3 separate regions of the Homo sapiens genome follow, and regions 1 and 3 are each linked to region 2. Evidence: promoter capture Hi-C in 16 types of primary human blood cells and fetal thymus (Javierre and others, 2016). All regions are on one chromosome and are shown on one strand. Each heading gives the region's core, a stretch centred on a gene start or on the middle of the fragment in contact. The rest is flanking DNA. Distances are from core to core; before and after follow the strand shown. Region 1 overlaps ACSF3 (acyl-CoA synthetase family member 3). Region 2 holds the start of PABPN1L (PABPN1 like, cytoplasmic). Region 3 overlaps ACSF3 (acyl-CoA synthetase family member 3).

Region 1 (4,868 bases), core at 1,433-3,932, 260 kb after region 2:
AGTAAATGTTTCTTCTTTTCTTTATTCCTCCTATTTCTTCTCCTCCTTTTCCTCTCCTTTTTAAACTATTGTAAGTATGGCAGGTGGGTATGGGGGGAGAGTTGTTTGTTTTTTTGAGACAGAATCTTGTCCTTTCGCCCAGGCTGGAGTGTAGTGGTACGATCTCAGCTCACTGCAACCTCTACTTCCTGGGTCTAAGTGATTCTCATGCCTCAGCCTCCCCAGTAGCTGGGATTACAGATGTGTGCCACCACACCTGGCTGATTGTTGTATTTTTAATAGAGGCAGGGTTTCACCATGTTGGCCAGGCTGGTCTCAAACTCCTGACCTCAAGTGATCTGCCCGCCTCGGCCTCCCAAGATGCTGAGATTACAGGCATGAGCCTCTGCACACAGTCACGTTTTTGTTGCTGTTGTTAGTTTTCAACTGTTCATTGCTAGTAGGTAGAAATAGAATTGATTTTTGTGTGTTGGCCTCAAATACTTTAGTTGTTACCTTGCTAAATTAACTTACTAGTTTTAGGAGATTTTAATAGACTTCTTGGGAATTTCTACAAATACAATCATGTTTTCTGCAAATACAAACAGTTTTATTTCTTCCTTTCCAACCTGTATGACCAAAGCCCTGACTAGGACTTCCAATACGATACTGAACAGAAGCAGTCCGAGTGGACCTTCTTATTTCTGATCTTAGGGAAAGGATTCAGTCTTTCAGCAAGTGTGTTAGTTACTGGCTTTTTGCAGATTCCATTCTATCTATAATGTGCTTAGACTTTTTATCACTAAATGTATGTTGAATATTTTCAAAAAGCTTTTCGGTATTGATGGACTTTTCTTTATTAGGCTGTTAATATGGTAGATTACATTGAACCAAGCTTTCATTCCCAGGACAAACCCCACTTGGTCCTGGTGGGTCATTTTTTTATATATAGTACTGGATTTGATTTGCTAGCATATTGCTGAGTATTTTTGCATCTGTATTCATAAGAAATTTTGGTCTGTAGTTTCCCATTTTTGTACTTTCTTTGGGTTGTGTTTGAGGGTGATGCTGGCCTCATTAAATGAGTTGGGAAGTGTTCTCTCCTCTTTTTTTTTCTGGAAGAGATTGTGTAGAATTGGTATTATTTCTTCTTTCAATGATTGGTGGAATTCACCAATGAAATCATCTGGGCCTAGAGGTTTTCTTTTCTATTATTATTATTTTGTGTGTGGGGGATAAGGTCTCGTTCTGTCACGCAGGCTGGAGTGCAGTGGTGCAATCATAGCTCACTGGAGCCTTGAACTCCTGGGCTCAAGTGATCCTGCGTCAGCCTCCCAAGTAGCTGGGACCACAGGCATGTGCCAACATGCCCAGCTAATTTTTTATTTTTATTTTTGTAGAGTTGGGGGTCTCACTATATTGCCCAGGCTGATCTTGAACTCCTGGCCTCAAGTGATTCTCCCTCCTCGCCTCCCAAAGTGCTAGGGTTACAGGTGTGAGCCACTGTGCCCTACCAACGTTTCTTTTTTGAAAGAAAAAGAACTATGAATTCAATTTCTTTAGTGCTTATAGGACTGTTCAGGTCATCTGTTGCATCTTGGGTGATTTTTGGTACATATCATTTTTGAGGAATTGGTTCATTTAATCTGTTAAGTTTCTTTATGTAGAGTTTCCCTTCAGGCCACGAAACCATTAAAAGGTTGATTAAAAGGTTAATAAGGGAATTCCCATCTTAACCTTTTAATGGTTTCAGGGCCTGAAGTTATGTGGCTCCCATTCCTCATGTTGGTAATTTGTGTCTTCTGTTTCTTTTTTCTTTGTTATCCTTGCTAGAAGTTTATCTGTTTTATGGCTCTTTTTTCAAAGAAGTCACTTTTGGATACATTGATTTTTCTTTACTGTTTTTCTGTTTTCAGTTTCACTAGTTCTTGGTTTCTTCTACTTGCTTCTGGCTTTTCTCTTTTTCTAGTTGCTTAAGGTGAAGCTTTAGATTATTGATTTGAGACCTTTCCTCTTTATAATGTGTACATTTAATGACGTACGTTGCCCTTAAGCATTGCTTTAGCTGCATCCCCAAATTTATATATAATATATATATATTTTTTTCTTTTTTCTTTTTTTTTTTTTGAGACGGAGTTTCGCTCTCGTTGCCCAGGCTGGAGTGCAATGGCATGATCTTGGCTCACTGCAACCTCAGCCTCCCAGGTTCAAGCAATTCTCCTGCCTCAGCCTCCTGAGTAGCTGGGAGTATAGGCATGCGCCACCACGCCCAGCTAATTTTTTGTATTTAGTACAGATGGGGTTTCACCATGTTGGTCAGGCTGGTTTCGAACTCCTGACCTCAAGTGATCCACCCACCTCGGCTTCCCAAAGTGCTGAGATTACAGGCATGAGCCACCACGCCTGACCTAAATTTTGATATATTTTTATTTTCATTTAGTTCAAAATATTTTTAATGTTCCTTAAGACTTCCTCTTTGACTTGTGGATTATTTAGAAGTATAGCACATATTTTCCAAATAGTTGGATATTTTTCCATTATCTTTCTGTTACTGATTTCTAGTTTAAGTCCATTACAGTCAAAAGACGCACTTGGTATATTTCAATTCTTTTAAATTTGTTAAGTTGTGTTTTGTGGCCCAGAATGTGGTTTCTTTTCAGGAATGTTCTGGTGTACTTGAAAAGAGTATATATTCTGCCCAGGCGCAGTGGCTCACACCTGTAATCCCAACACTTTGGGAGGCCAAGGCAGGAGAATCACTGCCCAGGAGTTTGAGCCCAGCCTGAGCAACATAGTGAGACCCCATCTCTACAAAAAGTTGGAAAAAAAAAAATAGCTGGGCATGGTGTTACATGCCTTTGGTCCCAGCTACACAGGAGGCCGAGGCGGGAAGATCGCCTGAATCTGGGAGTTTGAGGCTGCAGTGAGCTGTGATGATGCCACCGCACTCCAGCCTGACAGAGCAAGAGTGTGTGTCCTGCTCGTTTTAGGAAATGTCTGTTCTGTAAATTAGATGAAGGTGTTTGATCGTGTTGTTCAGTTCTTCTATATCCTTGCTGGTTTTCTCACCACTTGTTCTGTTACTAAGTGAGGGGTTGAATTTTCCAACTATAACTGCCTGTTTCTGCTTTCAGTTTTTGCTTCATATATTTTGAAAGTCTGTTGTTTGGTACATTCACATTTATAATGATTGTGTCTTATTGGTGAATTGACTCTTATTAACATTTAATGCTCTGGTAATGCTCTTTGCTCTTAAGTTTACTTTGATATTATTATAGCTATTTTAATTTCTCGGTTGGAGTTTGCATGGTATTTATTGTTCTATCCCTTTACTTCCAACCTACCTGTGTAATTGTATTTGAAGCAAGTTTCTTATACACAGCATACAGTTGGATTATGTGTGTTTTTTAAATCCAGCCTGACAAGCTTTGTAATTGGTATGTTTAGACCATTTACATTTAATGTAATTATTGATGTGCTTGAATTTAAGCCTACCATTTTACTATGTGTTTACTATTGTTCCCTGAGAGTTTTATTGCTCAACTTTACTGCCTTCTTTGAGGTTATTTTTTCATATTCCATTTTAATTTGTCTCTTAAGTTTTTGACCATAAATGTCTTTGCATAGTTTTTTTAGTAGTAGTTCCAGAAACTACAATATACATACTTCCTTTTTTACAGTCTACTTAAAGTCAACATTTTAACACTTCCAGAAGAATGTAGAGCCACATCCCTGCCTCCACATCGGTTACTTACCCTCTGCCTTTAGAGTGTAGTCAGTGTAATACCTGTATTTGTTGTAAACTCCGTTAGACAAAATGGTAATTTTTGCTTTCAACAGTCAAAAATATTTCAGAGAACTTGAGAAGAAAGGAACTCAACTTCATTCATCCAAATATTTGCCACTTCTGTTGCTTTTCCTGTATTCCCAATATACCAAGTCTCCTTCTGATACCAGTTTCTTTCTGTCTGAAGGACATTCTATAGGAATTCTTTTAGATCAGATCTGCTTGCAACAAATTACCTTATTTTTCCTCATCTAAGAATGTCTTTATCTTCCTTCCTGAAGGATATTTTCATTGGATTAGGAATTCTGGGTTGACAACTATTTTCTTTCAGCACTTTAAAAATATGATTCTTGGCTGGATGTGGCAGCTCATGCCTATAGTCCCAGCACTTTGGGAGGCCAAGGTGGGAGTGGATCACCTGAGGTCAAGAATTTGAGACCAGCCTGGCCAACATGGGGAAACCCTGTCTCTACTAAAAATACAAAAATTAGCCAGGCATGGTGGCACACACCTGTAATCCCAGCTACTTGGGAGGCTGAGGCTGGAGGATTGTTTTAACCTGGGAGGTGGAGGTTGCAGTAAGCCGAGATCATGCCATTGCACTCCAGCCTGGGTGACAGAATGAGAGTCTGTCTCAAAAAAATACTACTAATAATATAACTCCACTTCTTTCCGGCCTCCATTGTTTCCGTGGAGAAATCAGTGGGCGCAGGAACCCTTGTTCCTCTCTGTGTGTCAGTGATTGGATTATGATGTGTCTGGGCTTGGACATCTTTTGGTTTGTCCTGTTTGGGATTCTCTCAGCTTCTTTAGTTTATAGGCTTATGTTTTCACCAAATTTTGGGTTTTTAGCCAAATTTTATCAAACGACTTTGTGCACCTAAGTGTTATCTTTTCTTCTGTCACTCCAGTAGCATGAACGTTAGCCCTCTGTGTGTTGACTTTCCTGGTGATTTTTCTCTGCTGTTCAGATTTTGGGTCATTTCTGTTGCTCTGTCTTCAAGTTGTCACGTTCGTTTCTTCATCGTCCTGCTCCTGAACCAATCCATGAGATTCTTTATTTCTGTATTTTTCAGTTTTTAAATTATTGTTTGGTTCTGCT
Region 2 (4,928 bases), core at 1-2,500:
GCCCAGGCCAGTGTTTCCTCAAGGTGACGGGGCTGCCCCCAGGGTCAGACCCCCTTCCCAGCAAGGCTGCCTGGCCCATGGCCGGGCGCCAGACCCTCTGGTAGAGATGGGGCCCCATTCGCTGCCTGCCCCTTCACCCCGCCCACCACTCACGTTGCCCACGTAGACGGATCTGTGGTCAGCCTCCACCTTCTCCTCGGGGGTCCCAGAGAGGGGGCAGCCTGCGGAGAACACAGCTCAGGCCCGCAGGCCCTTGGTTCCTTCCTCACTCCTCTCACGGGGAAGGTCGCCCAGGCTTATAGGGGAGGTGACACCTTGGAGCCTGCCAGGCCCAACCTTAATGGAAACTGTGGGACCCTTGCTCAGTGGGGGGCGGCCTGTGCCCTTGGTTCCTACCCACGGTCTCAGGGCTCAGCAGCTGCCCGGCCGCGGTGCCCTCCTCTTCCTCGGCCTGTTGCTGCACTCCTGGAGGCCGTGGCGTCCCCTCGGCCTGCTCCATGGCACACACCTTCATCTTGATGGCCTCCAGCTCCTGCCGACACACGGCCCTGAGCCGGGCAGGCAGCCTGCAGGCTCTGCTCAAGGAAGGTGGGTGTGTGGCCTGCCAGCTCCAGCAGAGGGTCACAGCCCCAAGGGGCAGCCCTTCTCTGGACAGGGACACTCCTTCCTGGGGCAGCTGGCTGGGGATGAACTCGCCCCTGCAGAGAAGCCCCCGAAACCGCACCTCAAGGGCCCTTCCCCAGGCGAGAGAGGCCACCTTGACCCTGCAGTCTGTGTGGCTGGGGGCGGGGGGTCTCCTTGCCACCTTCGTCCAGGCAGGTGGGCAATGGCCCTCTCCCCTCCTAAGTCAGCTGCAGCCATCCGTCACCCAGACCCCGTGTCTCCACCAGCCCCTGTGCCCCAGGTCCCCTGAGATCCCCAGGGCCTCCACACAGCTGTTACCTGGTCAGGCAATGGGCACTCAGCCAGGTTCTCTTGCTCCAGCAGAGACAGCAGAAAGCCTGCATCCCCATCCTGGTCTTCCTCTGCATCCTCTTCCTCCTCTTTCTCCTCCTTCCCTTCCCCACCCTCTGGCCCCAGAATCTCCTTGGTCTCGTTCCAGGCCCCCCAGCCCTGGGCCTCAGGGTCTGAGGAGACCGTCTGGAGCCAGGCCTGAGTCGGGGGTGGGAAGAGAGAGCGGCTCGGGAAGGGCCACATGGTAGAGGGGCAGGAGGAAGGTGGGCCAGGCGAGGCCTCCCCTCCACTCCCCTCGCGTCCGCACCTGCCCAGGCTCTCCTGGAGTTTTAAGCCCTCCCCTGAGGCCAGCTGCTCCCACTAGAGCATTTGCAAAGGCTGAGTGGGGCTGAGCTTCCAGCCTTGGCTCCCGGCCCCGCCCCTTCCCTGTCACTCGGACAGGTACCTCCAGGACACTCTCCCTGGAGGAAGGAGAGGCTGAGTTGAGTGGGGGTCACCGGTCTCTTCTGCTTCCGCCTGGCCACGCTGTGGCTCACTGGAGCCTTGGTCTGTGACAGGGTTCACACCTCAGCAGCATCCACACGGCACGAACGCCACACTGCATGAACACTCGATCTAAGTGGGAACACGGGAGTGGTTTCTTCTAGTACCAGGGACCAAGCAGGCTGGAGAGGTGGCTTCCGACCAGGAGAGGCAGGGCCTGAGCAGAGACCGAGAGCAGGTGCATGGGATGAGAGGGCCGAGGCAGGTTGGGGCGGGGTCCTGGGCCCAGAGGAGGGGCAGCAACAGCTGTCTCTGCATCCTGACCCCCATGGAGTCCCCAGGGACCCTTGCCTCCCTAACCCTTATTCTGGGCCTTTTTTTTTTTTTTCTTTTTTTTTTAGGCAGGAGTCTTGCTTTGTTGCCAAGTCTGGAGTGCGGTGGCGCGATCTCGGCTCACGGCAACCTTTGCCTCCCAGGTTCGGGTGATTCTCCTGCCTCAGCCTCCTGAGTAGCTGGGATTACAGGCACCTGCCACCATGCCCAGCTAATTTTTTTTGTCTTTTTAGTAGAGACAGGGTTTCACCATGTTGCCCAGGCTGGTCTCGAACTCCTGACCTCAGGTGATCCGCCCGACTCGGCCTCCCGAAGTGCTGGGATTACAGGCGTGAGCACCGCACCTGGTCTGGGTCATCTTTTAGGTGGGAGCCACTTCCATGAGGCCAGAATTATTCTGCTGTGGGGCGGGGGCTCCGTGGGGAGTGACGGCGTGAGTTATTGTGGGGCGGGGTCTCCGTGGGGAGTGACGGCGTGAGTTACTGTGGCGGAATTCAGTGGGCATCCGGTGGTGTCTGCACCTGGCTTCACCCATGCAGGGTTGCAGCAGGAGGTGACCCGTGTCCGCCCTTGCGCCTCCCTCTGCACCTGCCACCGCGGCTGCTGGAGTCTGCTCTGGCCTTCATCTCCAGTGCTGCCGTCTCCCACCCACTCTGTGAAGGACTCGGGGCCAGGGGGTCATGCATGGCTCTTACCCCTGCCATTGGTGGTGGGAGACGGGGCCCCCTGCACAGCTCCTACCCCCAGGCCGAGGCCATCCTCTCTGTGACTGCACCCCGGTGTTTAGCCAGTGGGGCTGGGATTCCTGGGAATTTGGGACTGGGGGAGGAGAGAGAGACAGGGCGTGGCCTAGGCTGGAGCTGCACTGCTGCACCATGCACCACCCACGCAGGGCGGCCCTTCCTCCATCTTGGGCTGGGGGCTCGGGGAGCAGGTGGACATGGAGGCTGCCACAGCCTGGGAACCCAGGCTCCTGCACCCAGTCTGTTCTCACCTCTGTAAAAGCCAGAAGGTGTCTGAGATGGGTCTCAATCAATCAGTTTAGAGGTGTATCTTGCCAAGGTTAAGGGTGCACCCAGGAAAAAGAAACACGAAGCCACAGGCAACATCTGTGCTCTGCTTTTTCCAAAGAGGGTTTGGAGGCCGGGCATGGTGGCTCACGCCTATAATCCCAGCAGTCTGGGAGGCCGAGGTGAGCGGATCACTTAAGGTCAGGAGTTCAAAACCAGCCTGGCCAACATGGTGAAACCCTGTCTCTACTAAAAATACAAAAACAATTAGCCAGGCATGGTGGCGGGCGCCTGTAATCCCAGATACTTGGGAGGCTGAGGCAGGAGAATCACTTGAACCCGGGAGGCAGAGGTTGCAGTGAGCCGAGATCGCGCCACTGCACTCCGGCCTGGGCGACGGAGTGAGACTGTCTCAAAAAACAAAAACAAAAAAACCCAAAGAGGGTTTGGAGACTTTTATACTTAAAGGGAAAGAGCGGGCAGGAGGGGAACACAGGAAGGAAAGAAAAGGGAGGGCGGATAAAAGGCAAGTGGTAGCGTTCCTTTGAATCTCTGATTGGCAGTCACCAAATGCACATTTTGAAATGTGGAAGGTGGGGGTAGAGAAGAGAATTACGTAGCCCCACGCTCAGCGACTCTGCGTTTCCACAGAAGATAAAACTGCCACAGGGAATAGGAAGCTGGCAGGTTCGCATTCGCCTCCGGTGAGCGGAGGGTAACGTTAGCTCTGTCCTTTGTCCCATACCTGGGAAGATAAGCTGCTAGATCACACTATCTGGGTGGGATCCAGCAGAACTGTTTCAGAGCCAAGATCTTGGGACCCACAAGGAATTTCCCTGTAAGCGCGATGCGAGGAGGCACAGGCTTCTTCATCTTCGTGGCTGTCCAATTAGGAAGAAAATGGGAGGCAGGTGTGTGTGATTCGGCTCCCAGCTTGACTTTTCCCTTTGGCTTAGTGCGTTTTAGGTCCCGAAATTCTGTTTTCTTTTCCCACCTCCAGGAGGCTGACTGAAGACCATGCTGTCACCCCATCTGTTCACCACCCAGAGGATTTTCTGGGGCAGGCTCATGAGGTCGGGGAGGAATGGGCCTTGTCTGGAACCTGGCTATGGCCCTGGACGCCCCTTCCCCTCTCCCTGGCTCCGCACAGCCACACACTTACGTGTGCGTGGTCCCTGGACGCTGTTCCCCCTGCGAACACGGTGCCACTGTTTCCGGGAGGGCTGCCGGGCTGCTCCTCCTCCCTCGAGAGCCGCTGTCCTCACGCCTTTCCTGCTGTCCGTCCAGTGTTGATGACTTGGCCAGCTCTCCCCTTAGAAACCAAAGCTCCTCAGGGGCAGCGCCCACATCTGCACCGAGGACAGGTACGCTGGGTGGAGTGCGGCCTCAGCCTGGGATCCTCCTGTTGGGATGGAGCCCCCTGCCCCGTGTGTCTGTGCCTGTGTGTTGGAGGGTCTGCCAGCACCCGTGCCTCCACCTCCCTGTCAGAGGCAGGATTGCAACCAGTTCCATCCAAGACCAGAGTCTGCTGGACTCGGCCCAGGCCCTGACGCATGCCCCTCTGAGCTCGGGCCCCGGCCATGGAAAACCTTGTCATCCTCACCCTGTCTGAGATTGCTGACACACAAGGCCCGGCCAGGGCTCCTGCCAGCTGCCTGGCAGGGGACAGACGGCTCCGACCCTGGCCTTTCCAGTGACACTCTTCAAATACACCCTGTTCCAGAGCCGGGCCTGAGGATTCATGGCAGCCTGGCCCCTGGGGCCCCAGCGCCCAGGACAACTCCTATTCCAGACAGGATCCGTGTGTGACCCAACACCAGGGCCCCATGGGGGTGGCTGAGAGGGGCAAGCCGTCCCTTCCTGTGCTGTCCACCCTCAGGTCCCCTGTGTCCCCTCAGTTTTCATTTCTTTTTTTTTTTTGAGATGGAGTCTCACTCTGTTGCCCAGACTGGAGTGCAGTGGCACGATCTCGGCTCACTGCAACCTCCACCTCCTGAGTTCAAGGGATTCTCCTGCCTCAGCCTCCCAAGTAGCTGAGATTACAGGCACCCGCCACCACACCCAGCTAATTTTTTGTATTTTTAGAAGAGATGGGGTTTCACCATGTTGGCCAGGCTGGTCTTGAACTCCTGACCTCAGGCAATCCAC
Region 3 (4,316 bases), core at 895-3,394, 280 kb after region 2:
CGGTTTCAGGTCATCTCTTTGCTCATGCTTAACAAAAGCAATCTTTGCTCCAGTTCCCAATAAGTTCCTCATCTCCCTCCGAGTCTACCTCAGCCTGGACTTCATTGTCCATATCGCTATTAGCATTTTAGTCACAACAATTTAACAAGTCTTTAGGAAGTTCCAAACTTTCCCTCATCTTCCTGTCTTCTTCCGAGCTCTCCAAATCGTTCCAGCCTCTGCCTGTTACCCAGTTCCAAAGCTGCTTCCACATTTCCAGATGTCTTAACAGCAGTGCCCCACTTCCCTGTACCAGTTTTCTGTGTTAGTCCAGTCTTGCATTGCTATAAATGAAGCCAGATTTTTCTCAGCCACTTTGCCAACCGGGGACCTCCGTGGCTGGTGACACCCCCAACCCAGGCCTGCCACAGAAGGCACCCACACACTCGACCCACTGGGCCATGCTTGGCTTATGCACTGGCTCAGCCCACCTGTGTTATAGCTTATACCTGCATTCATCGGTTCCCAAGTTCTTGTCCCGCGTCCAAGAAGAATGAGGTTACACTGACAATTCAAAGGGTGAGGAGAGTGGAGAAGAATTTTATTGAGCAATGAAACAGCTCTCAGCGGAGAGGGTATGCGAGGGTGCTGAACCGCCCAGAGTTGGGTGTGGCTGGGTCTAGGGCTTTTCTGGGCACAGAATGGGGAGGGGCAGGCTGTAGGTAGCACTGGAAAAGGTAACCTTTGGTTGGTTAAAAAGCATTATTCAGAAAGAACCAGTGGGAAAGAGTGGGCAAACAGGAATAGAAGTTCTCACTCCAGGCTGCAGGTTTCAGGCTGTTTTTGGCTTGAAGGTGGGGTTTCACCAGGGACCCACCCCTGTCTATCTGGGCATTTGACTGCTTCCTGTTGCTTTCATAAGGAACTACCCAAGATGGTAATTTATAAAGAAAAGAGGTTTAAGTGGCTCACAGTTCCACAGGCTATAAGGAAGCATGGCTGGGGAGGCCTCAGGAAACTTACAGTCATGACAGAAGGGGAGGCAGGCATGTCCCACATGGTGGAGCAGGAGGAAGAGCTCACCTACAGCAAATTATTTAAGACCGAGCATTTGTCTCTGTTCTGTTCCCTCTCTGGACGCACCCTCCTGCCTCCACCCTGACTTGCCGTCTCCTGAGCACTGAAGATATTTTTGGCTTGTCCGATGTGACTCCACAGACAGCAGAAACGCTTGCTTGATCAGGGCAGCATCAGGGCACCACACATGCCTGGGCTTGCACAACACAGCGGGAGCACTGCCACTCAGCAGCAGCTGCTGCTTTCATTAAACAGTTACCTTGAGAAGAAAAGATAGGTGTCGAGGGCTGAGAGCTGTGCTAGAGTTTCAGGGTCCGAGTTGGCAGGAACTGAAGTCCCGATGCTCCTCAGCCCTTGGCTGTCCTCAGGGCTGCCCTCTGCGTGGGGACACCAGGCCGCCCCTGCCCAGGGACACCAGGCCGCCTGCTCCTGCTCTGTGCATCTCTCACATCAGGCTCCTCACCCAGCATTGTTTGGGCTATGACAGTGGCTGTGACAAGACCCTAAGACGGGAAGCTGCGTGCAGGGCACTTGAGGGCCCGCTGAGGAGAAGCCGCCTGTGAGGGACAGGACTGGGCAGGGAAGGCCACCAGCCATGCGGTCACAGCCCAGGACTCCGCCAGTCCTGCAGGAGCCCTGGAGCCAGGCCCTTGCTGTCCAGGCCACTTGCTGTACCTGGCCCACAGCTACCTCCCCTGCAGCCCTGAGTCCTGCTTGCTGTGCCCGGCTCAGGCTGAGACTGCAGTGCTTGTCCATTCACCATGAAAGAAAGAAGAACAGGAAGGGAGGCAGGAGGAAGTAAGTTAGAGGATTAATCCAAATGTTCCAACTGTCTAATGGGAGTTCCAACAAGAAGATATCCAGGGAGGAAATTCACAGTCAAATTTCCCCAAACCAAAGGTCATGAGTTTTCAGGTTGAAAGAACACCCAACCAAGAGGAGAGAAAACAGCATTCTAAATATCGGAAGGAAACGAAACCTCGCCTCAGGCATGCGGGCTCTGACGGGCAGGATGGCGGCACGGAGGGCTGCTGTATCCAGTGAAGTCAGCAGTTCAGATGAAACAGATAACTCCCTTAAAAGACACAAATTGCCAAGACTGACGCAAACACTGAAACAGACTGAACAGTTCTGAGTTACCAATTTAAAACTGCAAAGCAAATAGCAGGCCCAAAAGGCTTCACTGATAAATTATCTCAAACATTGAAGGCAAAAAATAAAACCAGACACAGCAAAGTAAGTCTCTGATGAAACAGAGTGGGGAGGAACACTTCCTAACTCCCCGTATGGGACCAGCACTACCCTGAAATCAAAACCAGACAAGAAAACGAGAGGACAGTGTTCCCAATGGGCAGACACACAAAATCCTAAACAAAACGTTAGCAAATTAAATCCAGTTAATGCACAAAAAGACAACACGTCATGATCAAGCAGCATTTAAGCCAGGAATAGAGGGTTACTTTCATATTCAAAAATCAGTCTGTGTAATTCACCATATATTTTTTTTTTTTTTGGATGGAGTCTCGCTCTGTCGCCCAGGCTGGAGTGCAGTGGCACGATCTCCGCTCACTGCAACCTCCAGCTCCCAGGTTCAAGTGATTCTCCTGCCTCAGCCTCCTGAGTAGCTGGGATTACAGGTGCGCACCACCATGCACAGCTAATTTTTGTATTTTTATTAGAGACGGGGTTTCACCGTGTTGGCCAAGCTGGTCTCGAACTCCTGACTTCAAGTAATCCTCCCGCCTCGGCCTCCCGAAGTCCTGGAATTACAAGCGTGAGCCACTGGTAATTCACCATATTTACAGAATGAAGAAGAAAGATCATATCATTTCAATAGATACAGAAAAAGCATTTGCAAATGTCAAAACCCTTTTATAACAAGCACTCTTAGCAAACTAGGAGAAGAAGGAAAATCCTTGAACCTGATGAGGGAGTCTCTCAAAAGCTACCAGATGACATCCTGCTCGATGGGGAGCTGCTGGGCGTTTTCCTCCTGTGACCAGGAAGGGGCGCCTGCCCTCACCACTGCCACCCAGTCTCATTCAACACAGAGTTTGTCCCCTGTTAGAAACCGAGACGTTGGTTACACGTGGAGGTTGGGAGTGGCTCAGGCAGGCAGAGGGGCTTCTGGGAACCTGGCCATGTTCCCTTTCAGTCTGGGCGCTACTTAGAGCAGGGGGCAGTTGCTTCAATAAAACTTTAGATTCCCACACAGGCCAGGCGTGGTGCTCACACCTGTAATCCCAGCACTTTGGGAGGCCGAGGTGGGCAGATCACCTGACGTCAGGAGTTGGAGACCATCCTGGCCAACATGGTGAAACCCCGTCTCTATTAAAAATACAAAAATTAGCCAGGCATGGTGGTATGCGCCTGTAGTCCCAGCTAGTTAGGAGGCTGAGGCAGGAGAATCGCTTGAACCCGGGAGGCGGAGGTTGCGGCAAGCCGAGACTGCACCACTGCAATCCAGCCTGGGCGACAGGGCAAGCCTCTGTCTCAAAAGAAAAAAAAATCTACACATCCCTCACCACACTGTACATAGGACAGCTGGGTGTAAATTACATCTCCATTTAAATGCCTGTCATAGTTTTATACAACTATAAAATATATACGTGCCAAAATAAATTTGATAGGAACATTGGAACCAGGTAAGGTGACGCATACCTGTAGCACTTCGGGAGGATCCTTTGAGCCCAGGAAGTCGAGGCTTCAGTGAGCCATGACTGCACCACTGCACTCTGGCCCAGGCAACAGTGAGATCCTGTCCTAGAAAGAAAAGAGAAAAAAAGAAAAATGCGATTTGGAAATGTGGAGGTCGAGGTTGACAGCGACACCGAGGTCGAAGCCAGTTGCCCCTGGAGAGCGAGAGACTGGGCTGGGCCGACTCCCACCTCTGTCGCGAGAGGCCTACGGGCAGGGGCAGGTGGGCAGGGGGACTGTGCTGGGTCTCTGGCCGCGTCTGGACGGCAGGCGACACTTTCTCCACAAAAAGCGTCAAGAAACCACGACACTTGGTTTCTGGACTTTTCCGCGGAACAGTAACCAGAACAATCGCCATGAAGGTTCGTTTCTGTCATGGCTCAGTGCAGCCTGGACGCCCTGGACCAGCCCCTCCTGCGCCTGGGCCACGGCCGCTGCCTTCAGGGCATCACTGGTGGGCGGCACAACCATCCTCCCTTTGGGGGGTTAATTTCATTTCTTTCCTCCCTTCTTTAATGGTGAATGGAGGAGCACCGAGCACCACTGCAGTCTCAGTTTCAGAT

The links. The method cuts DNA at HindIII sites, captures the fragments that hold promoters and counts their contacts. A CHiCAGO score of 5 or more calls a contact.
Region 1: a contact is called between a fragment that was not itself captured here and the fragment with the promoter of PABPN1L in region 2, in 8 of 17 cell types (M1 macrophages, monocytes, erythroblasts and 5 more). The highest score is 8.6, in M1 macrophages.
Region 3: a contact is called between a fragment that was not itself captured here and the fragment with the promoter of PABPN1L in region 2, in 4 of 17 cell types (monocytes, M1 macrophages, fetal thymus and 1 more). The highest score is 7.4, in monocytes.

Annotation. Positions count from the first base shown.
Region 1 is chr16:89,126,172-89,131,039 of GRCh38, forward strand. The region is part of intron 7 of ACSF3 (acyl-CoA synthetase family member 3); the gene reads left to right. Among named protein-coding and RNA genes, the nearest start is that of LINC00304, 31 kb to the right of the region's middle. The HindIII fragment of the contact is 1,442 bases long and covers 1,962-3,403 here.
Region 2 is chr16:88,865,410-88,870,337 of GRCh38, forward strand. PABPN1L (PABPN1 like, cytoplasmic) reads right to left here and starts at 1,251. Exons shown (of 7, transcript NM_001080487.4): 1 at 943-1,251; 2 at 397-532; 3 at 154-221. The coding sequence starts at 1,197. The HindIII fragment of the contact is 14,417 bases long and covers 1-4,928 here.
Region 3 is chr16:89,149,057-89,153,372 of GRCh38, forward strand. The region is part of intron 10 of ACSF3 (acyl-CoA synthetase family member 3); the gene reads left to right. Among named protein-coding and RNA genes, the nearest start is that of LINC00304, 8.0 kb to the right of the region's middle. The HindIII fragment of the contact is 8,507 bases long and covers 1-4,316 here.